2 separate regions of the Homo sapiens genome follow, and region 2 is linked to region 1. Evidence: promoter capture Hi-C in human tissues and cell types (Jung and others, 2019). All regions are on one chromosome and are shown on one strand. The core of a region is centred on a gene start or on the middle of the fragment in contact, and the rest is flanking DNA. Distances in the headings are between cores, read along the strand shown. Region 1 holds the start of CCDC54 (coiled-coil domain containing 54). Region 2 overlaps LINC00882 (long intergenic non-protein coding RNA 882).

Region 1 (5,478 bases), core at 1,034-3,533:
GAAACATTGTTTTTCAGTTATTCTGCATGATATTCAGAAATTACAATGACAACCACCTGTTATATCTAAAAATGAAGCTCTTCTTGGCTATATGCTTTAAACAAACAAACAAAGAAAAACCTATCATATAAGAGTTTATGGTATTATAGTGGTAAGATTTAACTTAGTTCACAAACCCCTTCTTAGATCTTCCCTTTTCCCCTGCATCAAACCTATAGGACATGGTATTTTTCTCCTTTCATGAAAATGTAAAAATTACCCAGTATCATATTGTCTTTCTCCTCTTATCTAATTGTTTCATAGAAAAGAAGCTGAAGTTGAAAGAAAAAGCCAATATTTTGAATATGTTCCTTGCAATAACTTAGCCTTTCAATCCCTTTCATTTTTATACTGCTAACTTTAGTAGCCTTGACAATGGGTATCCTTTTCACTCTATACTACCTAAAGTCTGACCGGGCGTGGTGGTTCATGCCTGTAATCCCAGCTCTTTGGCAGGTCGAGGTGGGTGGCTCGCTTGAGGCCAGGTGTTTGAGACCAGCCTGGTCAACATGGTGAAACTCTGTCTCTACTAAAAATACAAAAATTAGCTGGGTGTGGTAGCGTGCGCCTGTAATTCCAGCTACTCAGGAGGCCGAGGTAGGAGAATCACTTGAACCCGGGAGGTGGAGGTTGCAGTGACCCGAGATTGCACCACTACACTCCAGCTGGGTGACAGAGTGAGACTCCATTTCAAAAATAAATAACAAATAAAATGAAGTCTTGTCAGTAGTGTATGTTTCTGGTATCACAAACCGTATCCACAAAGGCCACGAGGACAAAGTGTATAGAAAACTGACATGGAGGCCACCAAACATACTACACATTGCCCTGGACTCCTTCATTCTTTGTTTCCAATTATCTATGAAAATGGACCCAGGATGAGTCCTCATGAATTGCCTTTGAGAAAACAAGAACATTGAGAGAAAACGAATTACAACAGTTCAATTAGATCATGTGCCTTAACTTACTGTAGACATAGAGAAACTCTGCAGATAGTGGGCCCAGAGTGAGCAAACTACCGAAGAATTCACAGCCACCACACCAATGTGTGAATACTTGGAGCCTCCAGGTTACATTTATTTTGTGCCAAGCAAAGCAGAACATAACTCTATAGTCGAGTTACTTCTTCTTTTAAGGAACAAATAAAGCCGTAAATATTGTTGAAGATGGAGAGACAGATTGTGGTCAAGCTCAAAATGGGCCCAGTGAATGGACAGTATCTCTGGGTTATGACCTGGGGTTCCTCAGGAAGAATGGTTGGCCTAGAAAGAAGCCACTGGATGAATTCTTCTAACTTGGTAGCACTGAGGAAAAATGTCCATTTTCCTCCATGAACAAAAGTTAGCTTGATCCATGTACTGAAGTCTGGGTAAATGTAAATATTTGGCTTTGCTTTTTCAAAGCTCCTTGATGCATTTTGATGGTTACGTTTCTTCAGAGTTTTCATTTGGGGAGAAATTGTTTTTTTCTCAAGATGGTCAGTGGACTTTGGATAACTGGGCACTTTCTCTGGTTCTGCTGAAGAGATTTCCATGTCTGTAGAGGCCAAAGTGTTCTTCAGAGTTGCTGGTTGTATGAGTTTGTAAAGCAGTTCTGTGATTTCTTTACCCCTTTCTCCCTCCAGAATCTCTAGACAATGTATCGTGGAGCAGGAATTCTGAATTTCCAGTTCTGTCACCTTCTTCTTTAATGCCTTGATGTCTTCTTTCATAGAGAGGATATCTTTAGTCGTTGTGCATTGTTTGTCTTCATTAACATTCATTCTGGTTTCCAGGACCTCCATCTGTTTTTGATACAAGTCAGTCTTTTCCTGGACTTTTGGTATCATATGGACAATGTCAGTCATTTGGCTGAAAAGTTCAACTTGAGCAGTTTTAACATCTTGGAGCACTACTGGAAGATTCATTTTTCCGTCATAACTATCATCATCTTGATTACAATCATCAGATGTCACAGTGGGATATCCAGTTGAATCTTGGTGCCGAATCTTACATTTGTGGTAAACATTTTTAAGAGACTGTCTGACCTTGGAGAGATTTGAAGTCCACATCTGCCTAGCAGCAGCTTTTACCCTTTTGGTGTGAAGTGTGTACATCTTTCATGGTGAAACAAGAGGCAAGGTGTTGGAAAACAGAATCACAGGAAGAAATAATGTACAAATGAAATGGTCCTTCTCTTACTATTTGTTGGATGCCTTTCCTGATAACATCTTAGAACACTCTGGAAATCATCAGCCACAGCAATAGACACTGTTAGGTGATTAGCTTCTTATAGAGCAGCCCAACCAGAGAGCTCTGTGAAATAATAGTCAACTGCATGGAATCTTTCATATGGTAATCATTGACCTGCTGCTGATGTCACAATGACTGCTGGCTTAGAACAAACATATTTAACTACAGCAGTTCTCAAAAGTTTTGGTCATAGGGCTCTTTTTGAATCATAGAAATTGTTGAGCAGCCTGAGGAACACAGAAAAACACCTGTTGCTACAAAAAAATAAAAAAATTAGCCAGCCATGGTGGTGCATGCCTGTAGCCTCAGCTACTTGGGAGGCTGAGGTGGGAGGATCACTTGAGCACAGGGGGTGGAGACTGTAGTATGCCATGATGGTACCACTGCACTCCAGCCTGGGCGACAGTACAAGACTCTGTCTCAAAATGAATAAATAAATAAATAAATAAATAAAAATAAAAATGAAAAATTATTGAGGATCACACAGATTTTGTTTATTTGGGTTATATCTACCTACATTTTATAGTAGACATTAAAACTAAGAAAGTCTTAGATAATTAGTTATTAATTTAAATTTAAAAACCCATTACATGTTAACATAAGTGATATATTTTCATAAAAAATAATTTGGTTTTCTAAAAAAAAAGTGAGAAGAGTGGCATTGTTTTACATATCTGCAAGTGTTTTAAATACCTGAATTAATAGAAGATAACTAGATTCTCATATCTGCTTCTGCATTATATCTGTTGTGATATATTATTTTGAAGTATATGAAGAAAAAATAGCCTCATGGAGTTACGTAAATGGAAAGGGGAGAGTATTTTCATAGCTTTTTCAGATAATTGAGGATATCATTCTTTGCTACTTTATGAAAATTTGACAAATGATTTTTTTTAAGAAGTTAGCTGCAATGTGTCATTTTAGGCCAAATCAAAGAAGTTTCATACTCTGTTATATTAATAGCCGCTGGTCTATTTTTTATTTTGAATAGATGCATAATATCATGTATTGGTCATTTGGCAAACAATGGTTCACTGAATTATGTAGGTCTTCCAAATGTCAACTCATTGTATTATATAATATCAAAATATCATTTTCATTAATATCTCCACCAATCTCACCAGAAAAGTCTTTGAGTACTGAGAAGAGGCCAAGCTCATGGTAGCAAATGCAGATTTTTCAAAATTCTAATTTTAGCTTGAAAATCTTGAAATTTATCAAGCTGGTTTATTGTTTTCCTTGAAGTGACAGATTCCCTCCATCCATTTTTTGCAAAAATGCTTGCCAAATGCCCAACTATGAACACTGTAGTTTGTTGTCAGTTTTTTTCAAGAAAAAATAGTGTTCCATGAAAAAAGCACACATTTGTAATTCAAATACTTATGTACGTTTCCTCATGAAAACCAGTATACTTTGTTAAGCTGCAGAAGCACTTATGTTTACTTCCCATTATATCATACATAATATAAAAAAGATGTACTGAAGGGTTGAGATCTAATAAGATTAAAAATTCTTACTGCTTCATTGAGGACATTCTTGAGTGAAACTGGTTTTTCTTGTATTTTTTTCCTTTTCTGATTGAGTCACTGTTAGTCAGTGTGGTACCCCTGCTGTAGTTCATGCTAAGGTATCAACAGTTTTACCCACCATTGCTTTTGCAATGTAATTTTCAACAGGCAAATGTAAGCACAGTGGAAGAGACAAACGGTGTCCTGGGATTATTTTGAAATATTGTTGCCCTCATTGTCACACTTACAGAGTGGTCTCATGACACAAAGCATTCCACACTTTGAGAGCCACTGCCTTAGAATTTAAAAATAACAGCAGCCATTTCTCATGTTCCTTCTTATAGGTTTTTCTACATAACAGTATTTGAAATTCAAACCCTTTGAAATATTAAATAATATTTGGCCCATTTTATATATTGAGGTAAAAACTTAATTTTATTCTCTAAACACATTAGACTGAACACTCTGGAATCAAAATGACGTGTTACTCACATGTCTCTCAAGGAGCAGTCCCATTCTACTCAAAAGGACATTCCCTCTTGGATCCATGCCAATTCCAACCTTCTACCAAATCACTGTTTCTTCTATCTGTGCCCAATTGGAGGGTCAGTGTTGGCCCAGGATTTGGTACAAACAGTGAGCTTTTCCAGCAGTAATTTTAAAATTTTGGCTCATCAATAATATCTGGGATTTTGCCTTACTCTCCTATCTTTCAAATGCTGTTTAGTAACCTTTCGAAAATGTCTAGAAACCTTTCCAAACACTTGCTGAGGAAAATATTCTCCAAGAGGCAGACTATCACAGGAATGGCATTTGGGGCTTGGAAAGGTTAGAGTTCACAGCCGTCCCGTTTACTCTGGCTAAGGCCATTTTATCCGTCGAGTTCTGCAGACACAGTACTTAGGGCCCATACAGTTTTTAAGGGCCAATGAAAATACTTAAGAACAGAAGAAAAAAAAAACAGTGGCTCAGAATACTGAAAGAAAGCTGCAAGATTGAAGCAATAAATGTTTAATGAAACGTCTCTGAAATGTACTATGTCATATTCATTAATTGTTAGATTTAGTATTATTAAAATTTCATTACATTTGGAGGCAATTTGTGTATTACGTATTCTCACTTTCCAAGAATTCCCAGTTAAATGAGAGGGACTGCTTGTCATAATTACTCCCTCCAGGTTAATAACAGCTAAGACTTGTTGGGTGCATACCAGACACTGCTCTAAGTATTAGCTTACTTAACTATGTTCAGAGAAGTCAAGTAACTTTCCTAAGGTAATAGAGCTTAAAAATGGGCAGAGTCAGATTTCAAATGCTTACATTCTGGCTCCAGAGTCCATGTGTTTTACCTCTACTGCCTCACAATCATGATTAAAATATATATTTAGTACAACTCAGAAAAAGATGGACATTTTCTTTTTAAAATCCTACTGTATATTTATAGAAGACTTATTTTATTAAAATTTTGTCTGTTTAGCATTATGAGAAAATTTAAGCTTTCATCGGTTATTTTATTTACCAAAAGCATTTGATACAGAAATTTGTGAAGACTTTAGAAGTTGAACAAGCTCTAATTTGTAGGTAAAAGTGAATATTTGGAGGCTTACTTTCCTTACTGTGGTAGACATAGTAATACAATAATTGGAATTAAAAAAATTAAAGTTTTCAACTTAAAATATGAGTGTATGCTTACTATTTTTA
Region 2 (5,478 bases), core at 2,218-4,717, 140 kb after region 1:
TCTTTCTTTTTTTAATTTGCATTTTCTCAGTAGAACTTTACCCATCCTTCCTTTCATTGTTAGCATTTCTGAATTGTTTTGTTTTAGGTGGGTCTTTGTCTTTTATATACAGCATAGAGTTGGATTTTCCTTTGAAATCAACCTGTTTTTCTTTTTGTTTTAACACTGAGGTTGAGCCCTCTGTTGGCTGATATGTTTGGTCTCAGTTATCTCCTGTATTATATTTACCTGTGTAATATGTAGCATATTTGATGGTGATACGTGCTATTGAGGAAAATAAAGGAGAAAGGGTGCATAAAAAATGCTGGGGAGAATATTCTATTTTAAATAGTGATCAGGGAAGGCCTCACGGAGGAAGTGATTTTTGCACAAACACTTGAAATAGGCAAAAGAATGAATCATTTGGATAAATGAGGTAAGATTGTTCCTGACAGAGGACAGCTAGGGCCAAGGCCCTGAGGCATAGAGTAGCTAGTGTGCTCTAAGGAACAGCAAGGGAGCTGGTGTGATCAAAGTTGGTAAGCAGGAGAACAGTAGGAGATAAGACCAGAGGATCAGATAGGGCCCTGTCAGTAGGGAGCAGAGAGTCCCTCCTTCAAGAGAAATTTTGGTACCAGATGTTGAAATAATACATCTGCCATACCACAGTAATAAATTAATAACTCTATGAGAACACATAAATAACCCTGGGAATTCCAGCCTAGGTAGGAGAGGAAACTAGGCTTGCGGGTATGATATTTTGGGTACAACTCAAATTATGCATGAAAGTAGCTTCGTATTTGCTAACTTTGGGGGTTGGATTACTAAAGCACCTTTCCCAACCCATACGATTGCAGGAATCCTTGACTGTTCTTCAAGTCTCTCATATTTCAGTTTGTAGTTCATATCCTACCTCCAAACATATCAGATATAGATAACAACTATAGCTTTTGGCTATTTATCTGAAGCTGTACATTTACAGAGGAAGAATTTTATTGCAACATTCATATTAATGAAAGGTATTTTGACTAATACATGTTCAAAAAGCATGAAAACACTAAAATTCTATACTCAGAAGCTTGATTAAAGGACAGAAAATGAGAGATTTTTTTGAATTTTTTAAAAAAGTCAAGTATTAGTTTTTAAAGAGTTTTTTGTATTTTTTGTTTTTCTTTTTATAGGAAATCTGTTTTGACAGAAAACTATATGGCAAATGTGTGCGTGTGTGTGTGTGTGTTGGGGAGGACTAGGGATGAATTCAGTCTGTAATCTAGAAAAACTGTGTCCAGGATAGGAACAGAGAAGGGACAAACTTTATATGTATACACAGGATTACTTTTTCCTTTTCATGATGTGTTTTATTTGGAAGCATTTACATGTTCTCTTTCTCTTTTCCTCCTTTTTTTTTTCTCCTGCACCTTTCTTTTTCTTAAGCTAAGCTGTCACAGTGAAATACTGTGACTAAGCCACAACTCATATAGAAAACTGAACGGTGCATTGTAAAATAGGACACAAAACAAAAGACTTCATCCGAGAGCTGAGATCATCACGAGTACACAGACCCACTGCAGTAATTCAACAGTGTTTCTCAGAGCCCAGGACAATTTTTTCAATTCGTGATATCCTACTGCCCCCTGCTGTTCATGTGGAAGCACTGACTACAGAAATTAAAGTTTTCATAACATTGCACAGGTTTTAGTGCAATGTTAGCGTGCTATCAAAGAAAGTTAAGTAGTTCAAAGATTTAAACAGAGTAATTTAAGGAATTGCTTTCTAAAAGGCTGAATATCAAAGAAATTACAAAGCAACTTTCTCTACTGCCTGATATGTTGAAGAGAACTCTAATCCAGTTATTTGGCTAATGAATCCGGTTTCGTTTTTAAGTTTCTGAGGGGAGCAGAGCAGAAGGCAATTGAGGTAGCTTAGAGATAAATTAGTAAAGATAGAGCAGGGAGTAGATGGAGCAAATGAAAGGCAAAATGTGCAAGAAGGAGGGGGTAATGAATAATTTACATCCTCGAGGGTAAAGCAGTTCAGTCCTGAACAGATCGTTTACATTCCTCAGGGGGGTCGGGCAGAAACGGGCTCCACGGAAAAGCCCGGATGGGCCATTTGTGAGCCTCAGCTCTTCTGCCTCCTGCTCCTGGATTTGATCATGGAAACCTCTCAGGGCAGTTAGGATGAGTTGGAGCCTCTGAAGCAGAGCAGAGGCACATCATCTTTAGAGCTGATTTCCTGGGCTTCTCTGCAATTTGTAAAGAGCTCAGGGGCTGTCTCCTGGATGTAAGTCAGCCCATGTGCAAATGCGTATGTGTGAGCATGCGAGTAGGATGTTATATGTTCCACGTTTTAGACTCTGAGGGCTGCTAGTTCCTGCATGGCAGACCTTCCCCTTGGGATTAACTAATAAGGTGCTAGCGTTCCCCGTCACTCAGCAAAAGTAGTTAGAAGCTTGGGGCCTTGCTTCAGCATTTGTTTTTTTGCTGGGACTCTTTCTCCATGAGGAACACGACTGGAGAAGAAACGTTCGATATTTAGAAAATTAAATGTATCCATGTTATGATAGATGTAGAAATCCAGTCCAAACTGCTCGTGAAAGATGTAGTTTTTGCTATAAGTACTATAGGAGTGTCACTTCTAAAACTTCCAAAGTTCCTACTTCAAAGGCACAATGATGGATTTTAAAAAATAAAACTTTGAGAAAACATTTACATGGTTTATTTCAGGTAACAATTAATAACCTGATTCCTTAATGCTTGGGGCTGTTACGTTCATAGCATTGCTTTTAGTGCTATCATTTCCTATTTCTCTTGTATGACATATTGTATTAGTCTGTTTTCATGCTAGTAATAAAGACATACCTGAGACTGGGCAATTTACAAAAGAAAGAGGTTTAATTGGACTTAAACTTCCACGTGGCAGGGGAAGCTTTACAATCATGACAGAAGGCAAGGAAGAGCAAGTCATGTCTTACGTGGATGGCAGCAAGCAAAGAGAGAGAGCTTGTGCACGGGAATTCCTCTTTTTAAAACCATTAGATCTCATGAAACTTTTTCATATCATGAGAACAGCATGGGAAAGACTTGCCCGCGTGATTCAATTACCTCCCACCAGGTCCCTCCCACAACACGTGAGAATTAAAGATGCGATTTGGGTGGGGACACAGCCAAACCATATCATTCCTCCCCTGGCTCCTCCCAAATCTCATGTCCTCACATTTCAAAATCAATCATGCCTTTTCAACAGTCCCCCAAAGTCTTAACTCATTTCAGCATTCACTCAAAAGTCCACATCTGATACAAGGCAAGTCCCTTCTGCCTATGAGCCTGTAAAATCAAAAGCAAGTTAGTTACTTCCTGGATACAATGTGGGTACAGGCATTGGGTAGCCATTCCAAATGGGAGACATTGGCCAAAAGAAAGTTGCTACAGGCCCCATGCAAGTCCGAAATCCAGCGGGGCAGTCAAATCTTAAAGCTCCAAAATGATCTTTTTTCACTCCATGTCTCACATCCAGGTCATGCTCACACAAGAGGTAGGTTCCCATGGTCTTGGGCAGCTCCGCCCCTGTGGCTTTGCAGGGTACAGCACTCCTCCTGGCTGTTTTCAGGGACTGGCCTTGAGTGTCTATGGTTTTTCCAGGCACACGGCACAAGCTGTTGGTGGATCCACCATTCTGGGGTCTGGAGGATGATGGTCCTCTTCTCACAGCTCCACTAGGCTGTGCCTCAGTAGGGACTCTGTATGGGGGCTCTGACCCCACATTTCCCTTCCACACTGCCCTAGCAGAGGTTCTCCATGAGGGCCCCACCCCTGCAGCAAACTTTTGCCTGGGCATCCAGACATTTCCATACATCTTCTGAAATCTAGGTGGAGGTTCCCAAACCTCAAATCTTGACTTGTAAGCACCCACAGGCCCAACACCACATGGAAGCTGCCCAGGTTTGGGGCTTGCACTCTCTGAAGAAACAGCCTGAGCTGTACCTTGGCCCCTATTACTCACCGCTGGAGTGCCTGGGACTCAGGGCACCAAGTCCCTAGGCTGCACACAGAATGGGGACCCTGGGCCTGGCCCAGGTAACCATTTTCTCCCAGGCCTTCTGGCCTGTGATGGGAGGGACTGCCATGAAGACCTCTGACTTGCCCTGGAGACACCTTTCCCATTGTCTTGGGGATTAACATTCAGCTCCTCGTTACTTATGCAAATTTCTGCAGCCAGTTTGAATTTCTCCTCAGAAAATGGGTTTTTCTTTTCTATCACATTGTCAAGCTGCAAATTTTCCAAACTTTTTATGCTCTGCTTCCCTTATAAACTGAATGCATTTAATAGCACTGAAGTCACATCTTAAATGCTTTGCTGCTTAGAAATTTCTTCTGCCAGATACCCTAAATCATCTCTCTCAAGTTCAAAGTTCCACAAATCTCTAGGGCAGGAGCAAAATGCTGCCAGTCTCTTTGCTAAAACATAACAAGAGTTACCTTTGCTCCAGTTCCCAACAAGTCCCTCATCTCCATCTGAGACCACCTCAGCTTGGACCTTATTATCTATGTTGCTATCAGGCTTTTGGTCAAAGCCATTCAACAAGTCTTTAGGAAGTTCCAAAGTGTCCCACATTTTCCTGTCTTCCTATGAGCCCTCCAAACTGTTCTAACCTCTACCTATTACCCAGTTCCAAAGTTGCTTTCACATTTTTGGGTGTCTTTTCAGCCACACCCCACTCTACTGGTACCAATTTACTGTATTAGTCCATTTTTCATGCTGCTGATAAAGACATACCTGAGACTGGGCAATTTACAAAAGAAAAGGGTTTAACTGGATTAGTTCCATGTGGCCGGGGAAGCCTGGGGAATTCCTCTTTTTAAAACCATCAGATCTCATGAAACTTACTATCAAGAGAACAGCATGGGAAAGACTTGCCCCCATGATTCAGTTACTTCCCACTGGGTCCCTCCCACAACACGTGGGAATTCAAGATGAGATTTGAGTGGGGGCATAGCCAAACCATATCACTTATTAATATTTATTTTCTCAAAGTTATATTCTCCATTTGGGCAGTGCTAAAGATGAGAAGAAACACAGGGCAGGCTATGTCTTTAAGACTTTTATAGTAATTTAGAAAACTGTAGAACCATAGCATGATAATCATGGAAGAGTGAGGTGGGGCCAAGAGTAAGAAAATAATCTCCCCATTATCTTTTATTCTATCAGTTTATCCTATCCCCTCCCCCGCATCCCATCCACATCCCCTCCCATTTCTCCGTTCTACTCTTTACTATTTCATTTTATTTGTATTGATATTTAAATTTCAAATCAGGAATACTGGCTATTCTGTTTATGTAATTTTGCTCAATCCATAGTACAATGTTTGCATATAGTTGCAATAAATCTCTGTTATGAACACCAACACACTTACTAATTGCCTAGCATTATGCTGCTCCTATGTAAAACAGTTGTACATTTGATTTCAGGAAAGGAGAAAAGTGAAGTTGGAGGGAATTT

What was found. Contacts are between HindIII fragments. The study calls those that stand out against the background at their distance.
Region 2: a fragment that was not itself captured here is called in contact with the fragment with the promoter of CCDC54 in region 1 in 2 of the 25 tissues and cell types used here (H1 embryonic stem cells and dorsolateral prefrontal cortex).

The regions. Positions count from the first base shown.
Region 1 is chr3:107,374,244-107,379,721 of GRCh38, reverse strand. CCDC54 (coiled-coil domain containing 54) reads right to left here and starts at 2,283. Exons shown (of 1, transcript NM_032600.3): 1 at 1,087-2,283. The coding sequence starts at 2,134. The coding sequence ends at 1,148. The HindIII fragment of the contact is 13,990 bases long and covers 1-5,478 here.
Region 2 is chr3:107,232,172-107,237,649 of GRCh38, reverse strand. The region is part of intron 1 of LINC00882 (long intergenic non-protein coding RNA 882); the gene reads left to right. Among named protein-coding and RNA genes, the nearest start is that of LINC00882, 5.7 kb to the left of the region's middle. RefSeq lists a silencer at 1,667-1,716. The HindIII fragment of the contact is 3,445 bases long and covers 1,745-5,189 here.